3 separate regions of the Homo sapiens genome follow, and regions 1 and 3 are each linked to region 2. The links are contacts of gene promoters, found by promoter capture Hi-C in blood cells and fetal thymus (Javierre and others, 2016). All regions are on one chromosome and are shown on one strand. Each heading gives the region's core, a stretch centred on a gene start or on the middle of the fragment in contact. The rest is flanking DNA. Distances are from core to core; before and after follow the strand shown. Region 1 overlaps ERN1 (endoplasmic reticulum to nucleus signaling 1). Region 2 holds the start of TEX2 (testis expressed 2). Region 3 overlaps ERN1 (endoplasmic reticulum to nucleus signaling 1).

The links. The method cuts DNA at HindIII sites, captures the fragments that hold promoters and counts their contacts. A CHiCAGO score of 5 or more calls a contact.
Region 1: a fragment that was not itself captured here is called in contact with the fragment with the promoter of TEX2 in region 2 in 1 of 17 cell types (monocytes); the score reaches 5.8 in monocytes.
Region 3: a fragment that was not itself captured here is called in contact with the fragment with the promoter of TEX2 in region 2 in 1 of 17 cell types (endothelial precursors); the score reaches 5.0 in endothelial precursors.

The regions. Positions count from the first base shown.
Region 1 is chr17:64,101,891-64,105,799 of GRCh38, forward strand. The region is part of intron 1 of ERN1 (endoplasmic reticulum to nucleus signaling 1); the gene reads right to left. Among named protein-coding and RNA genes, the nearest start is that of ERN1, 26 kb to the right of the region's middle. RefSeq lists an enhancer at 2,185-2,234. The HindIII fragment of the contact is 3,808 bases long and covers 1-3,501 here.
Region 2 is chr17:64,260,849-64,265,010 of GRCh38, forward strand. It overlaps TEX2 (testis expressed 2), which reads right to left and starts at 2,412. Exons shown (of 12, transcript NM_001288732.2): 1 at 2,320-2,412. RefSeq lists a silencer at 2,000-2,609. The HindIII fragment of the contact is 6,481 bases long and covers 1-2,687 here.
Region 3 is chr17:64,074,065-64,078,125 of GRCh38, forward strand. ERN1 (endoplasmic reticulum to nucleus signaling 1) reads right to left here. Exons shown (of 22, transcript NM_001433.5): 5 at 1,111-1,183. Among named protein-coding and RNA genes, the nearest start is that of ERN1, 54 kb to the right of the region's middle. RefSeq lists silencers at 342-401, 885-1,179 and an enhancer at 622-701. The HindIII fragment of the contact is 608 bases long and covers 1,855-2,462 here.

The DNA of each region.
Region 1 (3,909 bases), core at 348-2,847, 160 kb before region 2:
AGCACTAGTGGAAACAAAAGCCACCTGCCTTGTCTGAGCATCTTGGAAGCCACTGGAAGAGCAACATTCTACAATTGGTTTATGGATCAAAATAAAACACTAATCATGGCCGGGACCGGTGGCTCATGCCTGTAATCTCAGCACTTTGGGAGGCCGAGGTGGGTGGATCACCTGAGGTCAGAAGTTTGAGACCAGCCTAGTCAACATGGTGAAACCCCGTCTGTACTAAAAAAAAATACTAAAAAATCAGCCAGGCCTGGTGGCAGACACCTGCAATCCCAGCTACTTGGGAGGCTGAAGCAGGAGAATTGCTTGAACCCGGGAGGCAGAGGTTGCAGTGAGCTAAGATCATACCATTGCACTCCAGCCTAGGCAACAGAGCAAGACTCTGTCTCAAAAACAAAAACAACAACAACACTAATCACATGACTAATTTAGTCTTGGAAAAATCTCAAAAATACAAAGTTTAGAGAGAAGCTGAATTTGGCAACTGAGAATTCTGTCAATCACAATGTCTACAGAAATGCCACAAACTATTACAACTGGCAGGTTCTTCTCAAGGCTCTCAACTGTACCAAATCGAAACTCCTGGGAGCCACTCGGAACAGTGTTATTCTCTCATAAGGCAAACAAAAATGACAAATTTTCTGGCTTTTTCCCCTCTGGCATTTTTAAAAGCATGAACATGCCTGAGTTCAAATGTAGTTGCTATAGCTAACATGAATTAAACATGTTTCCAGATGCCTTGTGTGATACTGAGCACAGCTGAGAACTATTTGTACCTGAACACTGAAAAACGCTGCTTCACAAAGATGAACTTGTGCCTTGTCTTTGCCCAGCCATTTCAGTCCTCAGTGCTCACTTTTCTCTACAAGCAACATACCCTACGGCACACACACTGGTTTCCAGAGAGCCTGAAAATGGAAAGAAAATGTCGAGTCTGCAGATCTGTTTCAAGTTAACAACCATTTGAAATTTGATTCAGTTTTAAAACTAGTAGTTGGGAGGTTAAAAAAAAAAAGTGGAATATATACTCCTGGCTTTGATGGTGACTTGTAGGAAGTAACCAACAGTAACTGTGGAGGGTGGGAAGGGTAGTGGCAGGCATCTAGTCTAGCCTAAAACTAAACATCCATTAGCTAATTGGTCCCCACAGACATCAGACTCTGTCCAGCATGTGTCACTCAGTGGGCTTCAGCAGTATAAGGGTCCTCACTGCAGCCCTACTCAGCTGGACTGCAGCAAGTCTCCCTCCTATGAAAGCCAACACAAGACCAGCACTGGATCCTGATGTTCAATGTTCTGATCATAAAGCAATGTTACGGCTGGACGTGGTGACTCACACCTGTAATCCCAGCACCTTTGGGAGGCCGAGGTGGGCGGATCACTTGAGGTCAGGAATTCAAGACCAGCCTGGCCAACATGGTGAAACCCTGTCTCTACTAAAAACACAAAAATTAGCTGGATGTGGTGGCAGTCACCTGTAATCCCAGCTACTTGGGAGGCTGAGGCAGGAGAATCGCTTGAACCCAGGAGGCGGAGGCTGCAGTGAGCCGAGATCACGCCACTGCACTCCAGGCTGGGCAACAGAGTAAGACTCCATCTCAAAAAAAAAAAAAAAAAAGCAATGTTACACAAAATCCAGCAGCTTCCCCATTCATAAAATCCACCATTCACTCTGCATTTACTACAAAGATACAGAAGTGGCTATCAACTGCTTATGCAGAGATGATTGAAAGGTACATCACCAACAATTTAATCATTCCCTAATATTGTGAATTCAGCTAATTGTTAGGGCTCTTCCATTAATTAACTACTTATATATATTTCAGGTAAGAAAAAAATATTTTCTTAAATGCCTTCTGAAATAACTTCATTTAGAAAAAGTTTTCAGTAAAGAGAATTATGGACACAGGGGCAGACAGGTGTTCAAACAGCACAAAAACAAATGAAATGGCCTCTAACAAAAAACCACCAGTTTCTAAACTTGCATTTGGGACTGACTGGTCAGGCAGGGAGGCAAGCTCATCAGTGGCTAGAGAACAACCAGCAAAAAAACCACAGCTTCCTGGGCATGGTGACTCACGCCTGTAATTCCAATACTTTGGGAGGCCCAGGCAGGAGGATTGCTTGAACCCAGGAGTTTCAGGCCAGCCTGTGCAATATAGGGAGACCCCATCTTGACAAAAAAAAAAAAATTAATTTGCCAGGTGTTGTGGTTTATGTATGTAGTCCCAGCTACTCAGGAAGCCAAGGAGGGAGGATTGCTTGAGCCTGGGAAGCAAAGGTTGCAGTGAGCCAAGACAGTGCTACTGCACTCTAACCTGAGCAACAGAGCCAGACTCTGTCTCAAAATAAAACAAACAAATAAACAAACAAAAAACACAGGGCTTGATTTCAGCAGCCTTATCACTGAAGTTTTGGTTTGTTTCCACTTACCACTGCCTTGTTGCCCCCTGCAATGGTAAGTACAGCAGGGAAGACCCTGCAAGCTCCTCTGAGATTCAGAACGTGTGAAAGCTGAATGTTCCTTATCAGGGGTTTCAGAAATGTTGCTTTTGCCAAAAAAAAAAATGCAGCTTGTCAATTTCAGACATACATTTCAAGAACTGATTCCCAGGTTGACTACCTGATAACAAGGGTCAGGGCCAGGTGTGGTGGCTAATGCCTGTAATCCCAGCACTTTGGGAGGCCCAGGCAGGTGGATCACCTGAGGTCAGGAGTTCGAGAACAGCCTGGTCAACATAGTGAAACCCTGTCTCTACTAAAAATACAAAAATTAGCCAGGCGTGGTGGTGCACACCTGTAATCCCAGCCACCCAGGAGACTGAGTCAGGAGAATCGCTTGAATCCAGGAGGAAGGGGTTGCAGTGAGCCAAGATCGCACCACTGCACTCCAGCCTGGGTGACAGAGAGAGACTCCATCTCAAAAAAAAAGGGTCAGAAATAAGATCATTAAAATGGCACAGACTTTTCACCTCTAAGTCAATGGCAAGATACAGTGTCATGCACACGTGTTCCATACCCACAGTTTTCCAGTGATCTATACTTAACGAGGTTTATAATCTCTGCTCCATTTACAAAACTGGAGCATCTTATCCCTGCAAAAAAAAAGGCGTGTACACACACACACACACAGAAAACCTACGATTGTGAACAAGAGAGTCACACACTTCTCAGGTGGCATGTAAATGGATCAAGTCCAACCCAACTGTACATCCCTCTCTCTTTTTTCTTCTTTTTTCCTGAGATGAGGTCTTTGTCACCCAGGTGGGAGTGCAGTTGAGCGATCAGAGCTCACTGCAGCCTTGAGGCTCAAGCAATCCTCTCCCCTCAGTCTTCCAAGTAGCTGGGACTACAGGTGTGTGACACCAGCCTGGCCAATTTTTAAATTTTTTGTAGAGTCGGGAGTTTCACTACATTGACCAGTCTGGTCTTGAACTCCTGGCCTCATGCAATCCTTCCACCTCAGCCTCCTGAGTTGCTGAGATTACAGGCATAAGCTTAAAAATAATAATAATAAAAAAAAGACTTCAAATAAAAATCTTTTCTATGAATCTTCTTCCCATCACACCTCCACTCCAACAGACCAGAAGTTTATATAATCATCTGGCTAATAATAAAAATTTGTTTTAGGAATATCACACCAATGTCTAGAATTTGTTCAGAGGCTGGTTTTTTCTCTGTGTGTGTGTGTTTTTGTTTGTTTTGCTAATAGTCCTCTGTGTTCATTGGATTACTGTTATATTGCATAATCCCAACTTTAGTTTTATTTATTTAAGGTTAAGAAAACAGCCGGGCACAGTGGCTCACGCCTGTAATCCCAGCATTTTGGGAGGCCAAGGTGGGCAGATCACCTGAGATCAGGAGTTCGAGACCAGCCTGGCCAACGTGGTGAAACCCTGTCTC
Region 2 (4,162 bases), core at 1,162-3,661:
CACCTAGAGAACAAGAGACAGTGTGTGTTTAATGAACTTCCTAACTCTGAATGAATGAATTGACAAATGGAAAAAAAGAAAGAACAGGCACTTTCCATCAAAAGATACCAGTCAACAGACGTGAGGATTAATATAATTTTATATTGAACCTGACACAGAAAACTGGTCTTTGAAGATTCACTTTGATACTGAAAGTAATCTACAGTGAGGAGAATTTCCCCATTGCTCTGTTCTCATATTAAGTAATAAACTGTGCAGTTCTCCCCTCTCTTTCCTCAAGGGATTCAGAAAACCTTCCAGAAAACAGAAGCATTTGACTTGAAGGAAAGGCAACTAATATGGCATATAGAAACAAACTCTTCATCCTTTAAAAACAAAAAAACCCTCCATCATTTCTATAATGTCTAGCAGTTTCTGGCATACAGCAAAATTATTATTATTTTAATAAATAATTTCTTTTTTAACTCCAGGCAACTGCTTTTTGTCCAAAACATGCTACGTATTTATTCTATCGAAAAGCCTAATCTTTCCTGCTTCTTCTCCAGAAGCATTCTAACATAACCTCTAATAATGAACATTATGTTTGGTATATGCTGTGTCTAATCTTCTCTCACGATGACATAACTTGCTCTTCAGACCTCCAACAATCAGCCCAAACCAAACTCCTGAATTTTTCCTCCCTCCTCGTCTGTCCCAGCCCCTCGGTTGCTTGTCAGTAGACTCAATTACCACCATCTTCTGATCTGAATCAATTTGTTAATCTCCTTCCTCTCAGGCACAGTGCCTTTTACTGGAGATAAACATGCAAGCAAGTTCAGTTCACCCAGAGCCCTCCACATCCTCTCCCTCCAAGCCTTCACACTCCCAAAGGGGCCCAGAAAAAAAAGAAAGAAATGATATGGCAAAATCCCACTCTATCCACATCACCTCAGGGGGCTTGTTTACCATAACTTTAGACCAACTACCATTTTTGGGGAGAATCTGAAAGAATATTGTTTATGGGCTAGGTAAGAGCTAACAGAAATGGCAGTTTCATTCTTCCAATATGAGACAAGCGTCTCTGTGTGACCCAGCCCTAAAACTCACAAACCTAGACTCCTCAAACTCCCCATACTCCAGAGTTCAAGGATAACCTGCCCTCCATTTTTCCTTATTGTTTTCCATATAAAAGTCACTCGTTGTTTCCCCTCCAGCTTACACCTGGCTCCTGAAATGACTCCTCTGAATCCTCTGAGAATCCTCAAAACATGTAAAAGCCTCATTCCTTTTAATGCATGTGCAGAGCGGTGATGGTGTGAAGACGCTGGCACTTCAAACGTGAACGTGGCACGAGCCCTGCCCTCAAGGAGCCCACAATTTTCCCTCAACTCTAAAAAAGGATGTCCTCCCTGGACAGTGTCTGTAAAACACAGTGACAAAGTACTTCATAGCTCTGGAGAAAGAGCGAGGGTGGAAACAGACTTTGCCCTTACATTTGACGCCCAGTAACCATAACAACCGATGGTTTAAGTAACTATCAACCCACTGAGGGGCTAAGTTTTCCAAAAATCGTTTTCAAAAGGGGAAGACTCCCCTGCACCAACTCCCATGGCAGCCGTACGCTCTAGGCAGCGTGTGGTGCAATGTGGCCAGCCGTTCCCCGCCTTCTCCGGTTCCACCGTATGGTTTCCGTGCTCAGCAGCCAGCAGCGACGGCGTCCACGGCCACACCGCCTCCCCGCAAGGCACCTGGCGCTAGGCCTCAGCCCAATGTCACTTGTTAACCTTCCGATCCCCCGGATTTCGGCACGCCGCCGCCTCCCTGCTAAAGCACACAAACCACCCCACCGCCACCCGCGTTCTCCAGGAGTTGGAGAAAAACCACCGGGGCGCATACAACCTCTGACAGATTCGAGTAAAAGTAACTGCGGTTCTCGACTTTCAAGCATTTCGCGTCGCCGGTGAGGGGGGCGGCAGGAACCCGGGGCCCCATTCATAAAATTGCAAGCCGTTTTCCTCTAGTTTGCGCGTGACGGTGCCTCCCTGCCCGGGGCCGGGGACCGCAGGCTGAGGGGACGGGGCCGGCAGCTCCTCCCGCCGGAGTCGAGCCCGAGCCATCCGGCGGGGCCCCGAAGGAAGGGATTGCCCGGGGGTGTCGCGGGTGGGCGTCCCCTTCAATACCTGAACCATGACAGCGGGGTGGGGGGCCGAGCCCCGCCACGCCAAGGGCCGCCGGACCCGACCGGTACTTTGAAGCCCGCGGGGTCGATCCGCGCCCAGCCCGGGCCTTATCCGCGGGGCGCTCCCTCCACCGCCCCCGCCTGGCCCTGAGACTGCTCACCCAAGATCCGCTGGCTGCCTCATTGTACTATGCCGGCGCCCGTGCTCCCGGCCGCGCGACTCCGGCTTCGGCTGGGGCACCGGCCGCGGTCCTGCTGCCCTGCCGCCCGCCCGCCCCCGGGCACACGCCGCCCCGCCCCGCCGGCGGACCCGCCCCGCGCCCGCGGCCGCCGCCGCCAACCAGAGGGCGCGGGGGCGGAGCAAACGGCACGCCAGGCCCAACCAATCCAGTTCTACCGCGCGCCGAGGTGAGGCCGCGGAAATGGGGGAGCGATTTGTCAGGTCTGTTAAAGGGGCCACCGCCCTTGGAGCTAGGGAGAGGAGTGGTGGGGAGGGTTACCTGGAAGAGCCCCAGGTGAGGGGGACAAAAGCTTCACTCTCCCAACGGGGCTGCACACTGTCCCCAGCTCTTTGCACTTCTTAATTTCCTCTTCCTGCAGTCTAGCAGCAACAAGTGCCCTTGAGACGAGGGCTGGGGGTTGAGGTGGGGTGACTGAGGCGCGGAGAACCAGGGGTATCCCCCTGGGCAAATTCACTCGATTTGCATTTTAGAGGGCCATCAGACGTATCTATCCCCATCCAACTGCAGACATTGATTTAAAAAGGCAAATTCCCAGTTTCCCGCATTATGTACTTCCCCCACCTGACTACCACACTACCACATCCTATCCTGAACTAACTCTGTTACTAGTTTTTTTGTTTGAGACGGAGTCTCGCTCTGTCGCCAGGCTGGAGTGCAGTGCCGTCATCTGGGCTCACTGCAACCTCCGCCTCCTGGGTTAAAGCGATTCTCCTGCCTCAGCCTTCCGAGTAGCTGGGATTACAGGCGCGTGCCACCATGCCCAGCTAATTTTTGTATTTTTAGTAGAGACGGGGTTTCACCATGTTGGCCAGGATGGTCTCGGTCTCTTGACCTCGTGATCCGCCGGACCCAGCCTCCCAAAGTACTGGGATTACAGGCGTGAGCCACCGCGCCTGGCCACGAGTTCTTAGAGCTTAGAACTTATATAGTATTAACTACTCATTTTTAGAGAGGCAATATCTGAGGCTCAGAGAGGTAAAGTGACTTCTCGAGGTAAATTCTCACTTAGAATGAGCTTCCTGGGATGGCAATGCCCATTGTGCATTTATCTTCTGCGAACCTGGGTTGGCTGGCAGAAGCACTGGCACATAGGGAGAGTTCCCCCTTCCCCCGTAGTCCTTGCCCCTCTGCACTTCCCACCCACCACAAGAAAGGACCAAGACAACAAACAGATGTGTCAGTGTGTCTCCTGCATTAGTGGGTCCCAAATGTCAGATCTTCAACGTCAGATCATCCTGGAGGGTTTTAACATGAAGATCTCTAAGTCCCACCCCAGAACCTGTAATTCAGTAAGTCTGAGATGGCCTTCGACACCCCTCCCTCCAGGTGATTCTAATGCAAGTGGTACAAGGACCACACTCAGGTGCGTGTTTTGAGTCTATCATAGTCATGAAATTCAAATTCAATTGGCAAAATGAAAGCCAAACTCCTTTCATCCTCAGAATTAGTAATATGGTTGGGAGACTTGCTAGTAAGGGAGGAGGTCACCTACTAAGACACTCATAACAGAATAAGTCATGCCAAGAACTGAGTGTAGAAGGGCACTGGACCCAGATGAAACAACATCTGAAAGATTGAAATCCTCAAGCAGGAAGAAGATTTGATGCCTCAAGCAGAGGGAAGCCAGGCTAGTTCTCTGACCCGTGAGACAGTGCATAAATATCTTAATGGCAGACACACTCCGGCTCACCACCAGGCCCAGTCATGATCCCAGAAGAATGCCCTGCTACTCTGGTGCCTCATTCCAATGCCAGCAAGCCCT
Region 3 (4,061 bases), core at 909-3,408, 190 kb before region 2:
ATATGATCTGAAGGTAGAGGAGAACAGAGCTAGGACCACGAACCTTTTCCATCTAGCATGACATAGCTGGTTACTTCAAGAACCACTAGAGTTTACATAACTCAGTTATTACTTTAATGGGTAGATTGGGCAACTACCATGCTCTTAAATATGTTTAATGAACTCGCCTAAGAGGCCACAGCACAAAGATGATAAGAAGACAATATCCTAAGCAGACTATAAGTGATGAATTGCTGGCAAAAGCTGGAAGACCAGATAGGACACAGTGACATGGATGGTCAGAAGATTATCAGATGTTCCCAGGTCACGGCCCACAGAGAGAAAAATCTGTGCCGATCGTTTCCTCCAAATTCCTAGGCTGGGAGTTCCTCATTCTGAAGGTGTGGAAGGAAGCAAGAGTCTCAGTGTCCTGAGCAAAACCTTAAAAGTCTGGCCTGCACTTGAGACCCAGAAATACACATAAAGCTCCTCGAGGCATGAATAGGCAATAAGCACTTTCAGTTCCTCAAAAAGAAAGCTGCTGTATAAATACGGGCTATTATTGCTACTATGATTTCAAGATAAATACAGCTCTCCTTTGTGTTGCAAATGCTTTTTTATTGACATTTTGGCAGCAACATAGTAAAAGAAAAGCAGGTGATCTGATGCTTTGAAAGCTGTGACCCCATAGGTATGAAGGCAGTTTATCTAGGCAAGCTATTAAGTGCTGTTCTATCAAACATTCTGATAGCAGGAAATACTAAGAAAGCGCTATAATTAACAGGCAGAGCCTGGCTTTCCTTCCTTGGCTTAGATGATTGTACTCACTTTAAATTTCATCCATTTGCCACTGGGTATGTTGCAATCTTGGAATCTCAGGACTAAGTCAACACAGCAACTAAAAGCTTGTTAAATGAGTAACCATATTAATGATGTCAATTCTTCTCCCAAGTTGGGGGAGCCCTTTCTTAATTGGTCAGCTGATCCTGGGGAGAACAGCACCTGAAGCACAACCCAGGAAAGAAAGGGTTGGCAAGGCGGTGACTGCGCCCTCTCTCTCCGCATGCCACTTTCCCAGATTCCGGGACTTACATCAAAGAGACACAAGTTTCTGGAGACAGGAACTCTTACCCATGTAGAGGATTCCATCTGAACTTCGGCATGGGGATGCCTGCACCAATTCTGGGATGGTAAAAGGAAGTTTCTTTAAAAAAAAAAAAAAAGAAAAAAAAAAGTTAACCAAGTCTTGTGCAATTATTACAATTTTACCAGGCAGTTTGTTTCTATTACCTAATTCTGCTAAAAAGAGAGAAGCACTTTGCAGATGAGAGTTTTCCTAACTGAATACAAAGGAGAAGGGGGCACCCTATGCTTCCACATCTACTGTGTTTTTATTTTCATTTTTTTGAGACAGGGTCTCATTCTGTCGCCCAGGCTGGAGTGCAGTGGCACCATCTTGGCTCACTGCAACCTCTGCCTCCTGGGTTCAAGTGATTCTCTCACCTCAGCCTCCCAAGTAGCTGGGATTACAGGCATGTTGCCACTACACCCAGCTAATTTTCCACATCTATTTTGACAAGCTCCCAGGTCCCTGAGCTCTGTAAACATCCACTCCTTTACTTGACACCATGTGCAGAGGCCCCTCAAGGTCTCCTGTCCAGGGTGCTTCCCAGGGGTGACACAAACCTTTTCTGAAAAGATTTACACAAATATGGAGAGTTATATATTCTTTGAAATGCTAAGAAAGAATTGTCCTGGCTTGGAATACAGAGCCAGAGCTGGCTAGACTGAGTAAAATGACAGTGCTTTGTAGAGCCCCATGGGAGGGAGCCAGGACATTGATGCTGAAGGGATGCAACCTTGGTGCCAAGCTCAAGCTTCGAGGGAAAGGAGAAGTCGCCATTACAGGGGCAACACAAGAGTTTGAGGTGGAAAAGAGTTTTGATGTTTTCTTCAGTAAATAATTCACTATTGAAAAACAAGAAAAATTGAGACTTTTGGTTTTAAAGAGGAAGTTAAGATAGGTGCCAGGAAAAGAAACTCAAAGGAATCCAAATGTTTCAACTGCATTTCATCATAAAACTGATTCTTCTGAGTCTACAGCTGACATCTGACGAGCTCTTTTGGTTAATGCTTGTTTCAGTATACTTTATTTTTAGAACATTCTGTGTTTTTGAAATTGTTCTATAGATACCTGCTTTTATAGAAATGCCTCTACTGCATGGTCACCTTTTTCTCCAAGAAAGAAAAGATTTCTCTCTAGCTTTAATAAGCAGAGCTTTGCATACTAAATAACTTGGATTTTCCCATCATCCCAACATTCAAACCAAGCCTCAGAGGAGGAAAAATGCTTCAGAGAGGCTGCAATGACTGGGTTTTGCCATGTGTTTCTGAGAATCAGAAAGGCACTGCAGATCTTCTAGTCTTCTGGAGTCCTGTGGTCTCTGCTGAGCACTGCCACTGGTGCCCTGATTCAAGGCCCAAGCTTGGGAAACATTGTTTCTGGAGCTGCTAAACCACAACCCAGAAAGGAGCACAAGGGAGTGATGAAGGGCATCCTCTTTTTTTTTTTTTTTGAGACGGAGTCTCACTCTCACCCAGGCTGAAGTGCAGTGGCGTGATCTCGGCTCACTGCAAGCTCCGCCTCCCGGGTTGATGCCATTCTCCTGCCTCAGCCTCCCAAGTAGCTGGGACTACAGGCGCCCGCCACTGCGCCTGGCTAATTTTTTGTATTTTTTAGTAGAGACGGGGTTTCACCGTGTTAGCCAGGATGGTCTCGATCTCCTGACCTTGTGATCCGCCCGCCTCGGCCTCCCAAAGTGCTGGGATTACAGGCCCGGCTGGGCATCCTCTTTAAGAACCAACTCCAACACTAGAAGACTCAGCCCTGGACATATTCCTTCACTTCTCCAGGCTGTTTCCACACCTCTAAAACGGGGATATCACCCACAGGGCTGCTGAGAGATTCCAATGAGATAACTTATACAACTCACTCACCCCAGTTTCTGGCAAACAAATTGCTTAAGAAATGGGGACTACAGAGCTGTGGAGAGAAACCAACGGAGAGCAGTGTTGAAGGTGAAATACACACAGCTCTATACAAACTTGCCCTCCTCCCCTCTGTTTTGGTCACAGGCATTCACAAAATAATTTTAAAACACCCAAGTTAAAGTCCACAATCCACTTACAGCCTAGATCAGTGGTTCTCATCCTTGGTTGCCCATGAGAATTACTTGGAAGCTTTAAAAACTTCCTACTGATGCATAATACGCAAACAGAAAAGCACTCATCATCACACAGCTCAGTCAAGTTTCACAAAGTGAACATACCCACGTAACCGGCATCCAGGTGAAGAAACAGAAGCCCCCCTCCTCTCTTGCCCCCCTTTCTAGCCATAACTCTCCAGGGGTAACTATTATCCTAACTTCAAAACAGCAGAGACTCGTTTTTCCTGTTTTTGGCTTTACATAAGTGAATGGCAGCGTGTGGCCTTTTTTGTCTGTCATGTTTTGCTCAACATCACGCTTGTGAGTCATCCGCGGCGTGTGTCGTCATAGACTGTTGGTCCTCATCACCGTGCATGCCGCTTCCAGAGTTTATTTTTCCACTCCACTGTGGATGTTATTTGGCCACCCTCTGCTTATTATAAATGGTGCTGCTGTACATTTGGGCACATGTCCATTGGTGAACAAAAGTGCATTTCTTCTTTTTTTTTTTTTTGAGATGGAGTCTCGCTCTGTTGCCCAGGCTGGAGTGTAGTGGCGTGATCTCAGCTCACTGCAAGCTCCACCTCCCGGGTTCACGCCATTTTCCTGCCTCAGCCTCCCAAGTAGCTGGGACTATAGGCGCCCGCCACCGCACCTGGCTAATTTTTTGTATTTTTAGTAGAGACGGGGTTTCACCATGGTCTCGATCTCCTGACCTCGTGATCCGCCCACCTTGGCCTCCCAAAGTGCTGGGATTACAGGCATGAGCCACCGCACCCAGCCACAAATGTGCATTTCTGTTGGGTCTGTAACCTAGGAGGGCATTACTGGGTCCTAAGGACTTTAGCACTTACTGCCAACAGTTTTCCAAATCAC